Regions from separate parts of the Homo sapiens genome. Here region 1 is linked to region 2. The links are contacts of gene promoters, found by promoter capture Hi-C in human tissues and cell types (Jung and others, 2019). All regions are on one chromosome and are shown on one strand. Each heading gives the region's core, a stretch centred on a gene start or on the middle of the fragment in contact. The rest is flanking DNA. Distances are from core to core; before and after follow the strand shown. Region 1 has its middle 14 kb from the start of TBX4. Region 2 holds the start of MED13 (mediator complex subunit 13).

What was found. Contacts are between HindIII fragments. The study calls those that stand out against the background at their distance.
Region 1: a contact is called between a fragment that was not itself captured here and the fragment with the promoter of MED13 in region 2, in 1 of the 25 tissues and cell types used here (lymphoblastoid cells).

What each region holds. Positions count from the first base shown.
Region 1 is chr17:61,435,312-61,442,232 of GRCh38, reverse strand. No RefSeq gene overlaps it. Among named protein-coding and RNA genes, the nearest start is that of TBX4, 14 kb to the left of the region's middle. The HindIII fragment of the contact is 3,704 bases long and covers 1,335-5,038 here.
Region 2 is chr17:62,063,064-62,069,239 of GRCh38, reverse strand. MED13 (mediator complex subunit 13) reads left to right here and starts at 3,962. Exons shown (of 30, transcript NM_005121.3): 1 at 3,962-4,100; 2 at 5,939-6,173. The coding sequence starts at 4,035. RefSeq lists silencers at 3,172-3,251, 4,042-4,321 and enhancers at 3,302-3,561, 4,472-4,571. The HindIII fragment of the contact is 4,175 bases long and covers 2,978-6,176 here.

The DNA of each region.
Region 1 (6,921 bases), core at 1,937-4,436, 630 kb after region 2:
TAGAGAGGCCTGTTTCAGGAGTAGTGGGGCTGGAGTGGTAAATGAAGCCTTGTGGAAAGATAAGGCTTGGGAAGGACCTTGTAAACCATATTAAAAACTTCAGCTAATGGCAATGGGGGACCATAAAGGGTTCTTTTTGGGGGCAGGGGGAGGGAAGGAGAAGCTTGGACTGATCAGATTTTATTTTATTTTATTTTTTTATTTATTTTATTTTATTTTATTTATGTTATGTTATGTTATGTTATGTTATGTTATGTTATGTTATGTTATGTTATGTTATTTTTGAGATGCAGTCTCCCTCTGTTGCCCAGGCTGGAGTGCAGTGGCGCAATCTTGGCTCATTGCAACCTCCACCTCCTGGGTTCAAGTAATTCTCCTGCCTCAGCCTCCTGAGTAGCTGGGATTACAGGCGTCCACCACCACGTCCAGATAATTTTTGTATTTTTCATAGAGACGGGGTTTTACCATGTTGGCCAGGCTGGTCTCAAACTCCTAACCTCAAATGATCTACCTACCTTGGCCTTCTGAAGTGCTGGGATTACAGGCGTGAGCCACTGCGCCCAGCCCAGAATGTATTGTAGAAGATGACTGGTAGTGGGGCAAATAGATTTGCAGGTAGAGACTGGCAGCAAGGAGTTATGAGGGCAGGGAAGTTATTAGAAAGATATTTAGGAGAAGTGAAGTATGGAAGAGGCAGGAGTTAAAGATGTTTCTGGGCCAGAGTATGATGGACAGTTGTGATATTTTTACACCCAGACTTCATCCCCCCCTTTTCAGGTTCAGAATGCTCGTTGAGTTTTAGGAGGAAGAATCATTCTCTAGAGGCTTTTAAAAACAAGATTGACAATATCAGGATTGATTTACAATTTGTTAGGACCATCACTGAAAGGGTTGTGCTTACCCCCAGCTAAGACCATGTGACCCTAGTTAGTGCATTCAGATGCTTTCTTCCTGTAATTCTAATCTCGAGCCTAATGGCAGAAAGAATGAAGGGATGGAAGTTGAATCATCCTCTTTGGGCCTCGGCTTCCTTAACTGTACAGTTCATTTTAGATTCAACAAACACTACATGGTAGGTAATGTTCTTCTACTACATTCTTCAGTCTTCATTCCCCAGGGAAGCCATTCACTTGTATCCACTGTTCAGCTTCCCAGAGCTGCTCTGGCCTTCATTATTTATGAGTCTTGACCTTCAAGAATTTTCTTCATGTCAGTGAATTGCCCCATGCTTCCAAAAAATCCCCTCTCTGCTAAAACCAACCAGGTACATTGTCACAGCTTTGACACAGAACCTTTTGTGGTTGTGATGACATTAAGTGAGAGAATAGGCAGTGAGTATGGGCAGAGATGAGTTTCATTTTAGTCATGATAAGAAATACAGGGTCTGGAGATCACAATTTGAGACACATGAGTACACAGTGGGCATTCATACTGGTAGTTGATGAGGCCACTGAGGGAGAATTCATTGAAAAAGAAAAGGAGACCAAGAATGGAATCTTGGAGGGTGTGGAAAAGAAAGGAAATCAGCAAAGGGGCCTGAGAAGAATCAGTTAAAAAACTGGCTGAGAGAGTGCAATCCTGGTCGCAAAAGAACTTTTTAGGAGCAAGGGAGAAGTCAGCAATGTAAACTACTGGCAACTGTATTAAGGAGGATTCGAGGAGGAGGAAGTTAGAGTCACTGGTGACATTAGGAAGAGCAGATTAGTGGAGGGAAGATAAGAGTTCATCTCCATTCCAGGCTGTTGGAGAATCAAATGAGCTGGCTACCATAAATTGGAAGGACCCACCAAATGGGAGAGGCTCACACTCTGGTTTTCCTGGGCTTCTGGAAAGAACCATAATGCTGGCCTCCTGTGCCAGCTTCCCTCTCATGGGCATTGACTAAAACTTGCCAGCAAGTCACTATACACCACTGGAATCCTCACCTGCCCAGAGGGCCTGTCTTGGGGAGCTCCCTCTCTCAGACTCACTCAAGAGTCGGGCCTAGAGGCCCAGCAGAGTGGCTGAAGACAACCCGACAATCATGCTGTATTTTTGCAGTGGATGACTCTTCATAGCCCACCCTCCTTATTTCACTGTCAGTAACATCCCAGTGCATCACCTGACATTAAAGTCCTCCAGGATTTAACACCAAACCTGTTTCTACCCCAGTCCCACTGCTCCTCCTCAGGAACCAAATTCCCTTTCACACAGCTCCCTCACAATGGCCTTCACAGTCCTTTTAATGCACCTTTGTTCACACAGCATCTCTTTGATATCTCTCCCTTGATTTCCTGCCTACCTACATCCTTCACAGTTTATGTAACATTTTCACATATACCTGAGCTCATAACAACCCTGAGGAGTAGGAAAGAATACAGATGGTATCACCCACATTTTACAAATAAGGAAACCAAGGCGTAGGGGAGGTAAGGGACTTTCCCAAAGCCACACAATTAAGAGGGGGCCTCTTCAGACTTTTGGAATTCCATGGCTTCCAGATTCCAGGTTTCAGAATCATAAAGCTTAGTGCAATTGTCACCTCCTTGTCAGCCTGGGACAGGCTGTAAACTATGTGCAATTTGGCCCAGAGGGTTTGAGGACAGCATGACATGGTGGTTGAGCTTGGCCACTGGGTCCATACATCTCAGGTATTACCTTGGGTGATCTACTTAGCTTCTCTGGTCCTCAGTTTCCTCATCTGTAAAATGAGCAAAATAATACTCATTTACTTCAAGTTATTAAATATTTGGGAAGCATTTACAACACTACAGAGTAAATAGATTTACTTGAAAGTGAAATGAACTTGATTGAAAAAGATTAGACTCATTCATTGTCCATGGTATTACTACTACTTTAGAGTAAAATGTCCTCATTGGAAAGAATCTGGTAATTATGGCAGACTGCAAAGAAAACAAAAGAGATAACCACTTGACATTTTTGCCAGAGTGATGACAGCAAGCTGGTGGAATAGGAGACTCCAGTCCTCATACTTCCATAGAAACATCAATTTTGACAACCATCCATGGACAAGAAGAGTACCTCAAGTAGGAAACCAGGAGTCCAGTGAAGCAATTATAGAACTCTGTTTAAGCCAAAAAAAAAAAAAAAAAGAAAGAAAGAAAGAAAAGAAAAAACAACTAAGACTAGATGCGTTGATGAAGGTAAGAACACAGTGGCTCGTGCCTCTAATCCCAGCACTTTAGGAGGCTGAGGCAGGCGGATCACCTGAGGTCAGGAGTTTGAGACCAGCCTGGCCAACATGGTGAAACCCCGTCTCTACTAAAAATACAAAAAATTAGCCGGGCGTGGTGGCACACCCCTGTAATCCCAGCTACCTGAGAGGCTGAGGCAGGAGAATAGCTTGAACCTGGGAGGCGGAGGTTGCAGTGAGCCGAGATCACACCACTGCACTCCAGCCTGGGTGACAGAGTGAGACTCTGCCAAAAAAAAAAAAAAAAAAATTACCTGGTCATGGTGGCAGGTGCCTGTAGTCCCAGCTACTCCAGAGGTTGAGGCAAGAGAATCACCTGAACCCAGGAGGCGGAGGTTGCAGTGAGCTGAGACTGCAGCACTGCACTCCAGCCTGGGCAACAAGAGCGAGACTCCACCTAAAAAAAAGAAAAAGAGGAAGAACAGTTTCACTTAACCCACATCACCCTACTCCCAAGGCAGCATGGCTCAGTGCCCAAGTCCACAGTTTCTTCGATGGGGGATAGTGAGAGTGAAGTGAGTGTCCAGCTTCCCCAGCCTCACAGGTTGTTACCCAAGAGGCTCACTTCTGCCTCACCCCACCCAGATCACAGAAGATCACACAGCTAAAAGTCTTGGGGGAGGTAGGAGCAACCACAAAGTCTCAAAAACCAGCTGTAGACCCTATTAATTGGTTTGAGACTCCACCAGGAGTCTGAAAACCATGAAAACCCTGTAGGATGCCTCATCTTCAACACCTTCAATTGGATGACTCACACCCTCAGCACTCTGCATGTGCCCCTGAAATGGCACATGCAAAAGTCCTCAGATGGCATTTATGCGTTCCTGAGACAGAGCACCTGAGCCTCCACAGATAGTGAGTGCAAGCCACCACAGAGGACACATGCAAATCCCCACAGACAGCACATAGATATCAGCAGCTATCTCAACTTTGCAGGGTTGAGAGAAGGTGCACAATCTTGAACACTTCAAGGCACTTTCCTGGAGAAAATTAAGAGGAGGCCCTCCACACCTGGCCTGACTTTACAGGATTGAGAGTAGGCACACAATCCTAAGCCTTACCCCCACAAGGGGGAACAAGAGAGTGGGGCAGGTGAATCCATAGAAAAGGCCTGAAAGACGTCAAACTCTTGATTGTCTGGTGAATGTCTTTCTCTTCCAAAGCCAGTTAGTAGAGACTGGAAGAGGAGACTGCTTTTTCAAAGACAGAAATGCAACACTTCAAGGAACAAGAAGAATTAAGAAAACATGACACCACCAAAGGAACAAAATAAAGCTCCTGTGGCTGATCCCAAAGAAATTGAGACCTATGAATTGCCTGATAAATAATTCAAAATAAGTGACTTAAGCTCACTGAGGTACAGGAGAACACAGACAACTAAACAAAATCAGGAGAACAATACAAGAACAAAATGAGAAATTCAACCAAAAGATAGAAATCATAAAAAAGAACTAAACAGAAATTCTGGAGCTGTAGAATATGATGAATGAACTGAAAAATTCAATAGAGAGCTTCAACAGGGGACTCAAGCAGAAGAAAGAAGCAGTGGACTCAAAGACAGATCATTTGAAATTATCCAATCAGAGCAACAATAAGAAGAAAGGATGAAAAAGGCCTGTGTAACTTATGGGACAACATGAAACAAAACAACATTTGCATTATGAGTTGATGTTCTAGCACATTCAAAGTGCTGAAACAACAAAAACAACTGCTAACCAAGAATATTCTACATAGGAAATCTATTTTTAAGAAAGGAAGGAGAGATACTTTTCCAGCTGAGGGAGTTCATTACTACTTACAAGAAGTACTAAAGAAAGTTCTTCAGGTTGAAATGAAAGGATATCAGCCAGCACTGGAAAGAAGAAGAAGAAGAGAGAAGGAAGAAGGAGAGGGAGAGGGAGGAAGGAAGAAGGAAAAGAAGAAGAAGGAGGAGGAATGAAAGGACACTAAACATAAGAAACATATGAAAGTATAAAACTTGCTAGCAAAGGTAAATGTATAGTCAGATTCAGAATAGTCTAATTCTGTAATGGTAGTATGTAAATTGCTTTTACCACCAGTGTAAAAGTTTAAAGACAAAAGTATTAAAAATGACTATAGCTGCAATAATTTACTAATGAATGCACATTATAAAAATGTAAACAGTAATATTAATAATATTAAATGTAGGGGAGAAGAAGTTAAAGTTTTTGTATGTGATCAAAGTTAAGTTTTTATCAGGTTAAAATAGTCTATTATAACAATAGAATGTTTTCTGTAATCCCATGGTAATCACAAAGAAAAAATTCTGTAGGAGATACACAAAATACAAAGAGAAAGGAATCAAAACAAAATACTATAAAAAATTATTAAATCACAAAGGAAGACAACAATAGAGAAAAGAGCAAATGAATTGCAAAACAGAAAACAACTAGATGGCAATAGTAAGTCCTTACCTATCAATAATTACCTTACATATAAATGACTTAATTTCACCAATCAAAAGACAGAATAGCTGAATGACTAAAAAACAAGATCCTGCTATATGCTGCCTACAGGAGACTCACTTTAGCTTTAAGACACACACAGGCTGAAAGTAAAGGGGTGGAAAAGGCTATTGCACTCAAATGGAAGCCAAAAGAGAGCAGAGGTAGCTATACTTATATTAGGCACAAAGGACTTTAAGTCAAAACCTGTCACAATAGTCAAAGAAGGTCATCATATAATGAATGATAAAAGGGTCAGTTCACTAAGAAGGTATTACAATTGTGAGTATACATACACCCAACTTTGGAACACCTAAATATACAAAGCAAATAACAATAGAACTGAAAGGACAAACAGACAGCAATATAATAGTAATAGAAGACTCCAATATGCTACATTCAATCTTGGATAGATATCCAGACAGAAAATCAATAAACAAACAGCATTCAATGAAATACTAGCAAGCTGAATTCAATAGCACATTAAAAGGATTATACACTATGATCAAGTGGAATTTATCCCTGGGATGCAAGGACAGTTTGACATATACAAAACAATAAGTGAAGTACACCACATTAACAAACAAAGGATAAAAAATATATGATCATTTTAATATATGCAGAAAAAACATCTGACAAAATTCAATATCCTTTCATGATTAAAAACTCTCAACAAATGAGTTATAGAGGAATGTACCTCAACATAATAAAAGTCATATATGACAGCCCACATCTAACATCATATTCAACAAAGAAAATCTGAAAACTGTTCCTTTAAGGACAGGAACAGCACGTTGTGCACATGTACCCTAAAACTTAAAGTATAATAATAATAATAAAAAGAAAGAACAGGAACAACACAAGTGTGCCCACTCTCACCACTTCTATTCAAAATAGTACTGGAAGTGTTTGCCAAAGCAATTAGGCAAGAAGAATAGATAAAAGAAATTCAAAAAGAAAGATGTTAAATTGTATGTTTGCAGATTATATGATCTTATATATAGAAAACCCTAAATACTGTTAGAACTAATACACATCTTCATTAAAGTTGCAGGATAAAAAATCAACATATAAAATACAGTTGCATTTCTATGCACCAACAACAAACTACCCAGAGAAGAAATTAATAAAATGGTCTCATTTACAATAGCATCAAAAAAATAAAATACTTAGGAATAAATTAACCAAGGAGGTGAAAGATCTGTACCCTGAAAACTAGAAAACATTGATGAAAAAAATTGAAGAAGATACAAATAAATGAAA
Region 2 (6,176 bases), core at 2,713-5,212:
GGAAAAAGATACATAGGGAAAAGTCAATACATCAAAATGTTAAAAAGTGATTAATTATGAATGGTAATGATACGGACTTTTTTGGGTAATGTACATTTAAAATTTTCATCTTTACGCTTTTATGTATCTGCCAAACTTTTGACAATGTGTGTGTAATGTTTTTATTTATTTATTTTGAGATAGAGTCTCACCCTGTCACCCAGGCTGGAGTGCAGTGGCGTGATCTTGGCTCACTGCAACCTCTGCCTCCCGGGTTCAAGCAATTCTCCTGTCTCAGCCTCCCAAGTAGCTGGGACTATAGGCATGTGCCACCACGCCTGGCTAATTTTTGTATTTTTAGTAGAGATGGGGTTTCACCATGTTGGCCAGGCTGGTTTTGAACTCCTGACCTCAGGTGATCCACCTGCCTCGGCTTCCCAAAGTGCTGGGATTACAAGCGTGACACAGCACACCTGGCCGACAATATGTGTGTAATGTTTTTAGTTATTTCCATTACTTTTTAAAAATCCCATATAACTCCTGCCCCCACACATACACAGCCTCCCTCATTATCAACATCCCCCACCAGGATGGTATACCCAAAGTCCGTATTTCCATTACTCTCTTTTTCTTTTTTTTGAGAACGGAGTCTCACTCTGTCGCCCAGGCTGGTGTGCAGTGGCGCGATCTCAGCTCACTGCAAGCTCCGCCTCCCGGGTTCACGCCATTCTCCTGCCTCAGCCTCCCGAGTAGCTGAGACTACAGGCGCCCGCCTTTTTGTGTTTTTAGTAGAGACAGGGTTTCACCGTGTTAGCCAGGATGGTCTTGATCTCCTGGCCTCATGATCTGCCCGCCTCGGCCTCCCAAAGTGCTGGGATTACAGGCGTGAGCCACTGCACCCGGCCTCCATTACTCTTTAAATCACACAAAATGTCATTTTTACCGAATGTAAGTGGTTACTGATACGTTCTTTGTGGGCTGAAAATATTTATTTCTTCTCTTTCCCTTCTCCCAATGATTCCATTCCCCTCACAACTGGGATCCCCCCCATTCTAATCTGCTTCTCCATTCTCTCAGTCCTGTCTTTCTCTCTCTCTCCTGCTCCCTTCTGCGATCCTCCATCAGACTTTTTCTTCTGGGTCTTCCTCCCTTCTTCGCTTCTGTCTCCTTGTCTCCCTCTTCTTTTTGAAAAGATTGACATTCAAACAGAAAGGTCAATCAAATGTTACCTCCTACTGGTAGGTTTCAGGTATATTCTACCTGCCATTGGAATCCTGAGGATGGTGCTCAAGTCAGGGGGTGGGGGCAATGGGAGGGCAAGACTTCTAAGGAGAATGGAGACCCCTTTAGATGTGAGGAGGGCATTTCAGCCTGAGGAAAGCAGCGGAACAAAGATCTGAGGAGTTTTTCAGGGAACGGGAAATGGGCAGAGGAGCGCTTACCTCATTGGATCTGGGGATTGCTGTCTCCTGGTGCTGGCACTCGGTTATAAAGGATGCCAACCTTAGTTGATTTGAGCTCCTGGATTGAATTAGTCCTGGTTGCATAATTGACTTTGATATGTGGACTTTGGGTTCGAATTAGGTTTAATAAGATTTAACTGCTTCAAAGGGCTTTATAAGAATTCATTTTATCCTTCAAATCTGATTTCAAATGCTACCTACTTTATGACAACTTCTCTAAGTTTGATGCTCTTCTTCTAGTGCACTTACTATGCCATAGTAGGTACATACTTTATTCAAGCAATTACCCCCATTGTATTTTACCTTATTCTGTAGGAAATGTTTCCTTTAGTGCCTCTCTTCAGGAATCTTGAGGGACAGGCAGGTATCTTATTCCTATTTGTATCCTAGGCCTAGCACAGAGCAGGAACACACTCAATTGAGCCAGCAGGTTCTCAATGATTTTTAAAATTACATTAATAATTAACATTAAGTAAGCACTGTGGCAAGCACTGTATCTACATTGTTTCATTCACCAGTCATTTTAGAAGAAAAGTACTTTTATTACCCCCATTTTACAATAACCGAGAGAAAGCAAAATTAATTTGATCTAAGGTCAAATATGATCTAAGACTAACTAGTGAGGGGCAGAACTTTTTCTCCAGGCTTTGGGCTTCAGATCTGGGCTCTTCACCACCACAGATGAACAAGTGGATAAATGAGGACTTCTTTTCATTCCGTGGCTGAAGAAGTGACATGGAAGAGTCTACCATTCATTTTACAGATACAATTATGTATCTGTAATACATAATACATAATTATGTATCTGTAATACATAAAATTACAGTAAGTCCTAACTCACTGATGTTTCTAACTTCTGAATCATCTTTTTCTTCTTCTTTCTTTCTTGCAATCCTAAAACCGTCAGAGAAACTGTTTTGAACTCATATTGAAGTGTAACCCATCCAAGCACTGGGTGTTTTATGGGAAAGAGAATAAACCTTTTGTTTGGTTCTTACTTCTTACCACCCATTCATTTGTAACTATACAAATATCAAGCACCTACTGTGTGCTAGGAACCTTTTTTTAGGCACTAGAGAGACAGAAGTAAACAACAAAAAAATAGTGAGACCTTTACATACACTAGTTCTCCTGCTCGTCACAATAACTATATGAGGTAATGATGACAACAATAATAGTTAACTCTTAACAGTGCTTATCTGTGCGGGGCACTGGGCTACCTGCTTAATTTGTATTAACTCATTACAATAAGCTTGTGGGGTAAGGGATATGTTTTCCCCATTTTACAGATGAGTAAAGACACAGAGCAGGAAGTGATTTGCTCAAGCTTGGAACCCAGGCAGTGTGGCTCTAATTCCCAGTCTATTAACTACAGGGCAATATTTTGTTTCTTAAATTTATATCTTCATATCACAACTTTTAGGTTGAGGAGTCTTATCCCCATCCAGATCATCTGACTCCCAAATCCAGAGGTTTGCACCTGCACCCCAGCGGCCTCGCGAAATAAATGAGAATGTCTTGGAATTTTTGCCAATACTTTCTCTTCCAAAGAACTCAAACTGATTTCCACGTAATTCTCACTGATTTGTGAAATGAACCTTCCTGGACTGTAAATTTCCCCGCAAAGAGAGGGCCAGGGCCCCGGGTCGTTTTATACTGGCCGGGGCACCCAGCAGATGGCGCTATGTTAGTGGCCACCAGCTGGCTGCCCCGTCCCCCGAGCTCACCGCCTCCGCCGAAAGCTTCCCGGCCCTCCCTCGCTCACTTCTCTCTCCCCCTCCCAACCGAGCCCGGGCCCACGTGACCTCAAGGCGGCCAATGGGTGAGCAGAGAGGGCGAGCTGGTCCCTGTGGCCGCCATTAAAGCGAAGGGAAAACCCGTGAATTCGGATTAAAGGGGGAAAAACACCGCCCGCTGGGCCCACAAAATGGGGGAGACTACGGCGTCCAGCCGGTGAGGCCACAGGAGGGCAAACTTTAGGCCGGCTTGGCCCAGGAACGACACGAAGACAGAGCCAGAGAATGGTCTGAGCCCGCAGACGCCGCCACCACCTCCGCCGCTGAGGAGACTCTGGGCTTAAGGACATCGCCGCTGCCGCGCCGGGGGCCTGGGCTTCTCTCCCGGTTCTCGCCCTTCCCGCTCCTGTGCGGGCGCCTCTCCGCCCGGGAGAACCGTCCTGGGCTTGGGCTCTGCCGTCTCGGACTTGATTTTGATTATTTATTGTGTAATTTATTATTTTTCTTGTGGTAGGGGCACACATCCCCTCCGTCCCCCAGAGAGGGACGAGCGTCTGCGGGATCCGCAGTCCGGCCCGCCAGGCGAGCGCGGCGCGGCCCTCCCGCCTCCGGCCCTCGGCCCCGGGCGGCTGGGTGCCGGCCGGGCGGCGGGGGCTGCTCGCGGCGGCGGCGGCGGCGGCGGCGGCGGGGGGGTGGGTGGGGAGGGCGGGCGCCCGGCGGCCTCCTCTTCCACCGCCCCCCCAACCACTACCCCCCCCCCGGCCCTCCCCGGTGTCTGTGTTTCTCTCTCTGGTCGGAGGCGGCGGTAATGGCGGATGGTGGGTTGTGGCGCCGGCGGCGGCTGCTGTGAGGGACGATGAGTGCCTCCTTCGTGCCGAACGGGGCCAGCCTGGAAGATTGTCACTGTAACCTCTTCTGCCTGGTGAGTGCCGGGGCCGGCGGGCGCCGAGGGAGGGGGGCCGCGAGGTGCGCCCTTGGGCCGTGGGGGAGGGGGCCGGGTCTGGTCCAGATGCCCGAGTTCCCGGGCGAGGCCCAGCCGGAGCCGGCGCCCTGCGAAGCTCCGCGGCCAGCCCCGGGAGGCGGCGTTCGCTCTCCTACGGTCCCGGGCTCTGTTTAGGGGAGTGTTGGCATTTTTTCTCGTCTTGTTTCGGACTCTCCTTCTCACCGTAGTCTCGTCCTCAACTTGAGCTCCTTATCTGGCAGGACAGTAACCTTTCCCTCTTGTCTTGCTTAACTGTTGCTTTTCTCCTTATTGGCCCTGTATCCCTGCTTCACACTTTACATTATTGCCCCTGCTCCCCACCGCCTTTATGTCTTACCCTTTTAATTTGGTTTCCCCATGTAAACAGGACCCCAGAACTTAAGCCCTAGAAACCTGTCTTGGTTTTACATTTTTTTTGTATGAGTCAAACTAACGCCAGGTTAGTTTCTTTCTTGGGTGACTTAAGATCTCTCTGTAAAAGCCAGTAGGTGCCATTTCATATGTTTTCTTTTTAAACTTTGAAAACAGTTTGCCATTTTTGACAATTTCTAGCCATCTTGCTTTTATTAGAACATGATGTTTTTGTGAGAGTGAAGGGGGCTAGTGGACGAGGTGCTGTGGTTTTGCACTGTTTCTATATTTATTGTGTTTTGGTTGCTTTTTCAGAATGTTTTGAGCAGGCTGCTCCCTTGTTTGATTGAAATGGAAAGTCGAGAGAAGCGGGATGTAGGGATGATCATTGTGTAGGTTAGCCCAGGTCTGGTAACATCCAACAGTTAAGGCTTTCAGAAGTACCAACTGTTGCAAATAACTTGTCCTGTATGGGACAGTAGCTGAGCTTCATCAATGACTTTAAGTTTGGGTGACTTTACTTTTTCATTTTCTCCTTTGTGCTATGAGAAATATTAAGAGTATATGATAGGTAAGTGAGTTAAGTGGGAGGAGCACAACTAGTTGGCAAGTGTAAACTGCCAGTCATGTATCAGCAGTTTCATTTTTGGCACCTTATGCTTTGCTCCTTTAAGTTAGATTAAATTACTGAATTCCTCTTGTCGAATTTCTTAACGCCCATGCTAAATTGAGATCTTTAATACTCTATCCTCGTCTACAGTATGTTTTTCTTTTCAATGTCCATTAATCAGCATCTCTTCACATGTAATAAGACATACACCAGGTTTTATATTTCTATCTTATCCAACTCAGTCTATTTTTGGTACTTTTAGGATCAGTTCTTTGAAGATAGACTAGCACAAATCTGACAGTTCTTTGTGAGTAGCTATTTGACTTTTCCGACAGGGGTGTGTGTGAAGAATTAACATAGATTTTTTCAGAACTTGTTCAGATGTCTTTTCATTAGAGACGTTACTTCTGTAAATGTGGAATAAAAACCCATGATAGGGTCTTTAATAATTGATTTTCAGTTAAAAGTTTGACACCAGTGAACAAATGTGACCAGTTAGGACAGAGAAAAATGTACTCTGTTTGCATATTGAAGTGTGTGTCTATATTTAACATCATTCAGTTTCTTCTGTTTCTACTTGGAGTACATATTTGCTTGCTATTCAGTGACATGGTGGTGGTAATTTTTAACTGTATTCTTCTCCCTAAAATTCTTGGTTGTTGAATTATAAAGTCTTTTTTTGTTCTAATTTGCAGTCAATATCTCAAGCATACATTGAAAAATTGTAATGTCTTAATGAAATAAGAGACATCATATTGAGTACTTTTGACTTTGAGTGAATATGCAGTAATAAAACTTAATGCTTTCTTTCCTTCAGGCTGACTTGACAGGAATTAAGTGGAAAAAATATGTATGGCAAGGCCCAACTTCTGCCCCTATTCTGTTTCCTGTGACAGAAGAAGACCCCATTTTGAGCAGTTTTAGTCGCTGCCTTAAGGCAGATGTACTTGGTGTTTGGCGGCGAGATCAAAGACCTGGAAGAAGAGAATTGTGGATATTTTGGTGGGGTGAAGACCCCAGTTTTGCTGACCTTATTCACCATGACTTATCAGGTG